Regions from separate parts of the Homo sapiens genome. Here region 2 is linked to region 1. Evidence: promoter capture Hi-C in human tissues and cell types (Jung and others, 2019). All regions are on one chromosome and are shown on one strand. The core of a region is centred on a gene start or on the middle of the fragment in contact, and the rest is flanking DNA. Distances in the headings are between cores, read along the strand shown.

The links. The method cuts DNA at HindIII sites, captures the fragments that hold promoters and counts their contacts. A contact is called where the count stands out against the background at its distance.
Region 2: a fragment that was not itself captured here is called in contact with the fragment with the promoter of DEF8 in region 1 in 2 of the 25 tissues and cell types used here (adrenal gland and pancreas).

The regions. Positions count from the first base shown.
Region 1 is chr16:89,945,480-89,950,506 of GRCh38, forward strand. It overlaps DEF8 (differentially expressed in FDCP 8 homolog), which reads left to right and starts at 3,276. Exons shown (of 13, transcript NM_001242818.2): 1 at 3,276-3,335; 2 at 3,938-4,034. RefSeq lists an enhancer at 2,286-2,625 and a silencer at 3,306-3,405. The HindIII fragment of the contact is 40,323 bases long and covers 1-5,027 here.
Region 2 is chr16:89,880,942-89,886,204 of GRCh38, forward strand. TCF25 (TCF25 ribosome quality control complex subunit) reads left to right here. Exons shown (of 18, transcript NM_014972.3): 2 at 2,410-2,571; 3 at 3,641-3,715; 4 at 4,907-5,025. Among named protein-coding and RNA genes, the nearest start is that of TCF25, 10 kb to the left of the region's middle. RefSeq lists an enhancer at 1,551-1,720 and a cis regulatory region at 1,636. The HindIII fragment of the contact is 6,115 bases long and covers 1-5,263 here.

The DNA.
Region 1 (5,027 bases), core at 2,026-4,525:
AGTCTGGGCAACCCCATCTGAAAGAAAAGAAAACAAAATAGTAAATGTTCTAAACCAGTATATAAATTATCTGTAACTGCAGATTCTCCCAGGACTCTGGGAGGCTAAGCCTGGGTGATCACTTGAACCCAGCCATTCGGGGCTGCAGGGAGCTGTGCTCATGCCGCTGTGCTTTAGCCAGACTGAGATCTTGTCTCTTAATAAAAAATAAGAATAAAATGGGGCCGGGCGTGGTAGCTCACGCCTGCAATCCCAGCACTCTGTGAGGCTGAGGTGGGTGGATCACTTGAGTCCAGGATTCCAAGACCACCCTGGGCAATGTGGCAAATGTCTCTACAAAAAACACAAACAAAATTAGCCAGGTGGCGGCGCTTGCCTGTGATCCTGGCTACTCAGGAGGCTGAACTGGTAGAACCACTTGAGCCTGGGAGGTGGAGGTTGCAGTGAGGTGAGACTGAGCCGCTGCACTCCAGCGTGGGTGACAGAGTGAGACCCTGTCCCAAAATAAATAAAAATTTAAAAATTAAAAAAATGTGTTGTTGAATGTCTACAGAGGAATAGAGATGGTCATGACACACTCTATGTTTATTTACTTATTTATTTATTTTTAGAGACAGGGTCTTGCTCTGTCACCCAAGCTGGAGTGCAGCGGGTCACTGCAGCCTCAAATTCCTGGGCTCAAGCAATCCTCCCACCTCGGCCTCTCAAGGTGCTGGGATTCCAGCCATGAGCCACCGCGCCTGGCCAACACATTCTGATTAAGAAAGTAGACCTTAAACTGCGTGTAGAGTGTGGGTTTATCTTTGTCTCTCCTTGGAGGAGGGTTCCCATTGCTTCTGTAGACACTGGTTCAGATCCACAACCGGTTCTAACATGCATTTGGGCAGTGGGCCACCTGCTGGGAGGAACCTCCTTCCTCTCAGGGCCAGCCTCAACCGGGGACCCATTCCTTTCTCAGTCCATGCAAGGAAGCACCCTCTGTGTCCAGGCACTGGCCATTAAGCAGCAAAGAAGGCCAACAAAATGCTGCCTACGGCTCTTTGCTTCTGGTGGTTGGGGCTGGGGGGCAGAAATAATAAAGAAAAATGTGCAAAACCGAAGACATCAGACAGTGACGAGTGATTAGGGAGAAGGTGAGTGAGTGAGGGGAAGGGCCCTGCCTCCCAGAGATCACTGAGGACTGCTGAGCAGAGGCAAGGAGGAGGTGTTGGGGTTACTGGGGAGGACTGCTCCACAGAGGCTCAGCCAGGCAGGGGCCCCGGTGGGGGTGGGCCTGGCTTGTTGGGGAGACGAGCCAGGAGGTGAAGGTGGGGGTGGGGGTGGGCCTGGCCTGTTGGGGAGAGGAGCCAGGAGGTGAAGGTGGGGGCCGACTTCTTCCCAGGGTCCCTCTCACTGCCAGGCTGAGGATGTACTGTGGGGCCCAGGTGGGAGCTGAGATGGGGAAGGCCTTTCCAGAAGGAGGAGCTGGGAGAGAGGCCAGGTGGACGTGGAATCTCTAGGACTGGGGACCTTGAAGCAGCAGATAGAGCGGCGGCTCAGGGCAGTCTCCCTCCAGGTCTGAGTGCATGGAGGGACACGGCGTCCGAAGCCACCCTAAGCTGGGGTGGAATCTCACTGCACCCTTTCTGAGCGATGTGGCCTTGGGGGGGCCGATGGAGTTGCCTGTCCTGTAGGTGACTGCTGGCCCCCAGGCTTCCGTAGGGTTAAATGAGATGGTGTTGGCAACACGCCCCCCAAAACCTGGCCATAAACTGGTCCCAAAACTGGCCATAAACAAAATCTCTGCAGCACTGTGACATGTTCATGACGGCCATGACGCCCACGCTGGAAGGTCGTGGGTTTACCAGAATGAGGGCAAGGAACACCTGGCCCACCCAGGGCGGAAAACTGCTTAAAGGCATTCTTAAGCCACAAACAATAGCGTGAGCGATCTGTGCCTTAAGGACATGCTCCTGCTGCAGGTAACTAGCCAGACCCATCCCTTTATCTTGGCCCATCCCTTCGTTTCCCATAAGGGATACTTTTAGTTAGTCTAATATCTACAGAAACAATGCTTATCACTGGTTTGCCGTTAATAAATACGTGGGTAAGTCTCTGTTCGAGGCTGTCAGCTCTGAAGGCTGTGAGACCCCTGATTTCCCACTCCACACCTCTCTATCTCTGTGTGTGTGTGTCTTTAGTTCCTCTAGCGCTGCCGGGTTAGGGTCTCCCCGACCGAGCTGGTCTCTGCAAGGTGGTGTGTGGCTCCCACTTGGGAGGCCTCCAGTTACTGGCACTGTCATCACCATGCCCACTGAACAAAGTGGACCAAGCCCCAGAGGCAGCCAAAACCACACCTTTCTGCAGGGAGGGTAAACTGAGCCCGCGAGCTCAGGGCAAGCGCACCAGGCGCATATGCTGGCCTTCATCTGTCCTCAGCTCCTCCCTGCGGGCACAAGCGGGGGCAGCTGAATCTTCCACGCGAGAAGCCTAAGAGTAGGGATACGGGGGCGGGGAGCAGCAGGCCTGCTCTGTGTGTAAACAACGGGAAAGCAGGAATAACGCCAGGGCCCGCGGACACCAGCTGCCTCCGAAGTCCCGCTGCCCGGCGCCTGCATGGAGCAGCCTCCTGAGCGCAGTGTGGCGCGTCCTCCTGTGTAAAGAGGGTAGAGCCGCGCCGGGTCCCTCCCTCTGCAGCCGTGAAGCCCCCGCGGGGCCCTGCAGGTGGCTGGCGGCACCTGCACACGGTGGTTCTCTGTTCCTTTTTCCTCCTCAACCACTGAGGTTAAAAAAAGTGTTAAAAGCCACCCTTTTTGTTTTTTTGAGACGGAGTCTCGCTCTGTCGCCCAGGCTGGAGTGCAGTGGTGCGATCTCGGCTCACTCCGAGCTCCGCCTCCCGGGTTCACGCCGTTCTCCCGCCTCAGCCTCCCGCGTAGCTGGGACTACAGGCGCCCGCCACCGCGCCCGGCTAATTTTTCGTATTTTTAGTGGAGACGGGGTTTCACCGTGTTAGCCAGGATGGTCTCGATCTCCTGACCTCGCGATCCGCCCGCCTCGGCCTCCCGAAGCGCTGGGATGACAGGCGTGAGCCGCCGCGCCCGCCCATTTTTTTTAAACGTGTTGGGGTTTGGGTTTCAGCCACAGGCCTTCTGCGATGAGAGGAAACCCAGGACGCGCAGCCCCAGGTCAGGCCCGCGGAACAGCCGGGCGGACTCCGGGGCTCGCAGACTCGCGACCCGCGTGCCATGAACCTCCGCGCCGGAGGCGGCAGCAGCGAGCGCGGGGCTGGATCCAGCGTAGCGGGGCGGCCGGGCGGATCCAGCGCAGCCGGGAGACAGATGCGAGGCGGCGGTCAGGTGAGCGGCGCGGGGCCGGCGGGGTCGGGGCCGGCGGGGACGGGGCCGGCGGGGACGGGGCCGGCGGGGACGGGGTCGGCGGGGTCGGGGCTGGGAGGGACGGGGCCGGCGGGGACGGGGTCGGCGGGGACGGGGCTGGGAGGGACGGGGCCGGCGGGGACGGGGCCGGCGGGGACGGGGCCGGCGGGGTCGGGGCTGGGAGGGACGGGGCCGGCGGGGACGGGGTCGGCGGGGTCGGGGCTGGGAGGGACGGGGCCGGCGGGGACGGGGCCGGCGGGGACGGGGCCGGCGAGGTCGGGGCCGGCGGGGACGGGGCTGGGAGGGCGGCCCGCCCGGCGCAGGGGCCTCGAGACCTCGGCCGCCCCACCCCGGGGACGCCGCCGCTGCTCCGGCGTCCACACCAGCTGCGTGCGGAGCACCCGGGCGGCTCAGGGGACCCGCGTGGCCGTGCCCCCGCCCTGGGCTGCTCCGAGCCTCAGTTTCCCCCTCGGTGGAACGGGTGGGTGGGAGAGACCTGCCCCCGAGGAGCCCGGGAGACCGGGCGAGCTCCCGCGGGTGTGGTGGGTGGGGAGGCACAGTGCTGGGGTGGCTTCTCCCTGCAGCAGGTGCCGAACCCACGGCCAGGCTTCCGTGGCCAGCAGCCCTAGAGGAATGGCCATCCTGTCCCTGCGAGCCCCTGGGCCCTGGCAGGCGATGCAGGTATGGGCAGACAGGACGCTGTTGACTCCGCACACCGGGGTGACTTCTCAGGTTCTCGGGGTGGCAGCTGCAGTGATGACACCGCTTCCTGGTGGTCACGCCGCGGGCAGGACGCGGGAGGCCAGGTCCGTGCATCCCGCGTGTCCTGAGCTTCGGCCCAGGGTCCCTCCGTGCCCCGGAACCCCGCCGGCTTTCTTCGGCTTCCTTTCATTGCTAAGTTGTGGGGTCCTCCCCGATGAGAGCAGTGGGCTCTAGAGGAGGGGCAGGGGGTGGCCAGACCTCTTGCTTTCACTCTTCCACTTCCTGCCCGCTCCTTTCTGAGGCCAAGTCCCACATCTGGGTGCAGAACTGGTGGGGTGAGCCTGGTGAGAGGGGCAGGCTGGCGTTCTGCTCAGAGTCGGCCACTGTGGCCGGCATCCCCAGGTCTGTGTGAGCAGAAGCTAAGGCTGCGAGGCCAGCGGCCTCCCCTCATTCATCCCCTGCCCGTGCGCCAGGCCTGGGGCTGGCACTGACTGTCAGTAAATAGGCAAATAAAAGATGCCTTTTTTCACAGCCCGGAGGAGAGCTGGTAGCCTAGAGTACAGCTGCTGGGCAGAACGGAGGTGTCCCTGCCAGCGTGCCTTCCTTGACGCTCCTCTGGCCATGTTTTAAACACCAGGAGGTTTCCAGCGGCTTCCCCAGGCGTAGCTCCTGCACCTTTTTCCTGGGCTGGTCACCATATGTGATGACAGTGCCAGTCTGTTCTGAGCAGCTCTGGGCTCCTGGCTTCACTGACATCATAAACAAGTCCTTAGCCCTTCCATCCACCCCAGAAAGTAGGTGTTCCCCCTGATTTATAGGCAAGACAATGGAGAACCAGAGTCTAAATCAGGGCTGATTTTTTTTTTTTTTTTGAGATGGAGTTTTGCTGTGTTGCCTAGGCTGGAGTGCAGTGGCACAATCTCGGCTCACTGCAACCTCCACCTCCCGTGTTCAAGTGATTCTCCTGCCTCA
Region 2 (5,263 bases), core at 1,132-3,631, 65 kb before region 1:
GCATCACCATGAGAATCACCATCATGGTGCTGCTGGGATGGGACAAACCTCGTTTTGGTGGAGTGTCAGTGTTTTCAAGTTAGGGGCTCTGTTTACATAACACGTCTATACTGCCATGGATTTTCTCAACGGGCGTAAGTTGCTCCTGACTTGTCTCAGCGGGCGTTTAAGATGCTCCTGAATCGTATCCTTGTCATGTGGGAGCCTCCATTGGAGAGAAAGCCGACTGACCGGCAAGCACAGACCTGCCCTGTGCTTTCTTCTCTTCAGCAACCGCAGCCGGGGTGTCTGTCTTCCCAGGTGCAGCCGAGTCTCAATTCTGTTTCAGAAACTATCTCAGGGCTATGGGGCTTGGAGCTGATTGTGTTTTCTGAGGTTTGTGGTTTTCAAGATGTTTTAAATTAAACAGGCAGTTTTATTTATTTTTGAACCTTAGTGCATCCGATTGGATCCATCAGAATCTCCTAGTTCATAAAGAATTGTTGATGCTGGTCTCTGTTAGCTTTTTTTTTAAAAAATTTAGAGCTAGAGTCTTGCTCTGTTGCCCACGCTGGAGTGCCGTTGTGTGATCATGGCTCACTCCAGGTTCCAGATTCCAGGACTGCTGGGCTCACGCAGTCCTCCTCAGCCGCCTGAGTAGCTGGGACTCAAGAGGTGTGTGCCACCACACCCTGCTAATTTTTTGTAGAGATGGGGTCTCACTGTATTGCCTAGGCTGGTTTCAAGCTCCTGGGCTCAGATGATCCTCCTGCCTCAGCCTCCCAAAGCGCTGGGATTATAGGCATGAGCCACCACACCCAATCTGTTAGCCTCTTTTTTTTTTGTTTTCTTGAAATGGAATCTCGCCTTATCACCCAGGCTGGAGTGCAGTGGCATAATCTTGGCTCGCTGCAACCTCTGCCTCCCGGATTCAAGCAATTCTCCTGCCTCGGCCTCCCGAGTAGCTGGGATTACAGGCACGCGCCACTGCACCTGGCCGATTTTTTTATTTTCAGTAGAGACGGGATTTCACCATGTTGGTCAGGCTGGTCTTGAATTGCTGACCTCGTGATCCACCCACCTCGGCCTCCCAAAGTGCTGGGATTACAGGGGTGCACCGCCACCGTGCCCGGTCAGCCTCTCACTAGCTGAGGAGCCAGAACTTTTCCTGTTCTTACCCTTCTCCCACTGCCTGTCTCCCCTCCAATCTGTATGTGAATGTATGTTGTGAGGTTTTATCCATTTAATATTATACTCCTAAGATTCATCCATATTGTGTGTTCAGTGGTGGTTCATTCATTCATTCATTCTCACTGCTATAAAAAGGTTCCAGACTTGGCGTGGTGGCTCACGCCTGTAACTCCAGCTCTTTGGGAGGCTGAGGCAGGAGGATCGCTTGAGGTCAGGAGCTCAAGACCAGCCTGGGCAATGTGTTGAGACCCCCATCTCTACAAAAAAATTTAAAAAATTAGCCAGGCATGGTAGCTCACGCCTGTAGTTCCAGCTACTTGGGAGGCTGAGGCAGGAGGATGCTTGAACCCAGGAGGCCAAGGCTGCAGTGAGCCAAGATCACACTGCTGCACTGCAGCCTGGATGACAGAGCGAGACTCTGTCTCAAAAAGAGAGAGAGAAGGTTTCATCGTATGAATTATTTTTATCGTATGTCATTTTGTTTTTCTATTTTGAGATGGAGTCTTGCTCTGTTGCCCAGGCTGGAGGGTAGTGGTGCGATCTTGACTCACAGCAACCTCTGCCTCCCGGGTTCAAACGATTATACCACTTCAGCCTCCCAAGTAGCTGGGATTACAGGCTCCTGCCACTGTGCCTGGCTAATTTTTGTGTTTTTAGTAGAGACAGGGTTTCGCCATGTTGGCCAGGCTGGTCTTGAACTCCTGACCTCAAGTGATCCGCCTGCATCAACCTCCCAAAGTGCTGGGATCACAGGCGCGAGCACCTCGCCTGGCCTATCATTTTCATTAGGAAAAGTTTGTAGGTTGATGGGTCCTTGGTGCCTTTTTTTCCTGCCTGCTGCTGGAGAGGAGCTGAGGCTTGAGGAGAAAGGAGGAAGAAGGAACTTTAATGCATTGGCTGAATATATATATTTAACGTTTTGTCCTGCAGATGGTCCTCTGTAAATGGAGTAAATTACAATATTTGAGGAGTCTTCCTTACCTCATCTCTGAAGGCAGAGATACCCCATAGCCTCGGGGCCCCGGCTTTCTGTAGAGCTGCTGACAAAGTCCCCCTGAGCCAGAGCTGAGTCACTGCTGTGTCCAACAGTCTCGGGTTCTTGCATCTTTCCCGTCCAGCGTCTCGCACTGACCCTGGGGGTCCCCAACGCAAGCCCGTTCACATCTCACTATTCATATCTCAGCATGAGCGTTCACACTGTAAGTAACGCCCTGGCTCTTCTCCAACCTGTTTTTCCAGATAAACATTGACGATCTTGAGGATGACCCTGTGGTGAACGGGGAGAGGTCTGGCTGTGCGCTCACAGACGCTGTGGCACCAGGGAACAAAGGAAGGGGTCAGCGTGGAAACACAGAGAGCAAGACGGATGGAGATGACACCGAGACAGTGCCCTCAGAGCAGGTGGGGGGCTGAGTGGTGAGGAGGTGGCATCAGACGGGAGAGTTCCAAGGCACCCAGCCACGTGTATCCTGTGCTGTGATTTTCCTTGGAGGTGTAATTTTCCGAGTTCCATTTTGGTTACCTGCTAGTTGCCCCCAAATTTACTTGGGAACCTTGATGAGATTTGCATGAAATGAGTGAAGGTCGCAGGCCTTTCTCCTGCATCTCAGGAGAGTCTGCGCCTGCCCAGCAGTGTATGTAACCGCACACGTGTGTCCCTCCTAGCCAACCGCGCACGTGTGTCCCTCCTAGCCGACCGCGCACGTGTGTGCCTCCTAGCCGACCGCGCACGTGTGTCCTTCCTAACTGTGCCCCGAACGTTTGCTTGGCTGGGTTGTGGATCTGGGTGCTGGTGTAAGTGAACTTTGAAGAAACATGCAGGTCAGGTTAACGTGGGATGGGCAGAGATGCAGACAGCCTGCTGCTGTGCTCCACAGCACAGAAGAGGGGCCCTAAAAGGAGAGCTTGTGTTCATTTATCCAACAAGTGTTCTTGGGAGCTTGCTGGGTGCTGGGAACGTGCCTTTGCCCCCCAGGAGCCTCTGGTTGGGAGGGCAACATACATGTGAAGTGACAGGTGGGTCCTGACTTGAGGCTCAGGGTCCTGGGGGCTTCCTGAGGAGCCTTCCTACTGTCAGAAGGGGTTGGCCAGGTGCAGGCGTAGGGGACCACACATACAGGTGCGGTGTGAGGCGGCCAGGGCACAGCAAGGCCCCCGTCTTCAGGGTGGCTGCAGTGTGGCAGGGAGTGGCCGACACAGGGAGGAATGAGAGCTGGACCTGGTCAGGGTCCTGTGAGCCTGTGAGGCTGGACACAGAAGGCCCTGGGGACTGCTGTAGCACAGCCCGAGGGGCTCGGAGAGGTGGGAAGGTGCCTGCTGGAGAGAAGAGAGTGAGTTGAAGGAACTTTTGGGACACGGAGGGAGAGGTAGGGGCTGCTTAGGTGAGGGTGGAGTCACGCTTGCTGCTTTAATTCTCACTTCTTAAGATTTACTTCTCATTCTACTGATGAAAATGTGTTTCTATCATTAGTCTCATGCAAGTGGCAAACTCCGGAAGAAGAAAAAAAAACAGAAAAACAAGAAAAGCAGCACGGGAGAAGCATCGGTACGTGAGTTGGGCCTGGCTGTGCTCTGTCCCTCTGCCTGACGCCCCTCTCCCTCTGCCTGACGCCCTCTCCCTCTGCCTGACGCCCTCTCCCTCTGTCTGACGCCCTCTCCCTCTGCCTGACGCCCTCTCCCTCTGCCTGACGCCCTCTCCCTCTGCCTGACGCCCTCTCCCTCTGTCTGACGCCCTCCGTCTGCCTGACGCCCTCTCCCTCTGCCTGACGCCCCTCTCCCTCTGCCTGACGCCCCTCTCCCTCTGCCTGACGCCCTCTCCCTCTGCCTGACGCCCTCTCCCTCTGCCTGACGCCCCTCTCCCTCTGTCTGACGCCCTCTCCGTCTGCCTGACGCCCTCTCCCTCTGCCTGACGCCCTCTCCCTCTGCCTGACGCCCCTCTCCCTCTGCCTGACGCCCTCTCCCTCTGCCTGACGCCCTCTCCCTCTGCCTGACGCCCTCTCCCTCTGCCTGACGCTCTCTCCATTCTCTTCTGGCTGTTTTCCAAGGTGGTGTTGAAAGAAGCTTACTTAGTATTTTTATTCCTTCCTATTAGGAGTATAACTAAGAGATCAGGGAAAAAGAAAAGGGAAAGTTACTTTCTAAATGCTGCTTCTTGTTTTTACCCTTGTTCCTCGACTGGTTGGCGCTCTGCTCTGTGTCTCTGTGGGAATGTGTGATCTGATGGGGACATCCCTTCTAGTTCTGGTGCTCCTGTGACCCGTGGGACACTTGCTGTTTGCCCTGACATCTGTCCCATGCTTATGGGTTAATTGCATGGTGGGTACAGAACCCTCCACTGGAGCTAGTCTGTCATCAGAAAAAAATATGTTTTCATCATTGCCCTTCGTCCTCGTCTGACTGTGTCCTGAGACAAGGGTGTAGCTTTGTTGCCGTTTAGTTGGAGCCACAAGTCCCAACCCTGTTTGCCTGAGGAGGTGAGCACACCAGTGTGATGTGGAATGCCCAGTTTTTTCTAGGGTCCTTCTGGTTCTGTGATTCTGTCTATGCTGAGCGCTTCTTAGGAAACATCTCTTCTTTTTTCTAAATGTGTGGATGGTACATAGTGTTTGACTTATGCTGTCCTTTAGGAAGTAAATACAGTGTAATAGGTCTCTTTTAAGATAAATAATTTTGTTATTGTTACAATATTTAAAATAATGTCAGTGTGGTGATTAAGAGGTTGTTTTGGGGCTTTTAGGAAAACGGACTAGAAGATATCGATCGCATCCTAGAGAGGATTGAGGACAGCACTGGGTTGAACCGTCCCGGCCCAGCTCCCCTGAGCTCCAGGAAGCACGTTCTCTACGTGGAGCACAGGTGTGGCCCCCGCCCTTCTCTGCGGCTGCCCTTCTCTGCGGCTGCCCTTCTCTGCGGCTGCCCTTCTCTGCGGCTGCCCTTCTCTGTGGCTGCCACAGAGACTTCGTGGGAGGAAAAGGTTCTCTAAAAAAGGAAAAATAAAATGTACTGTCTTTATTTAAAAATCATATGAGTTTATTGGCTGGGCGTGGTGGCTCACGCCTGTAATCCCAGCACTTTGGGAGGCCAAGGCAGGCGG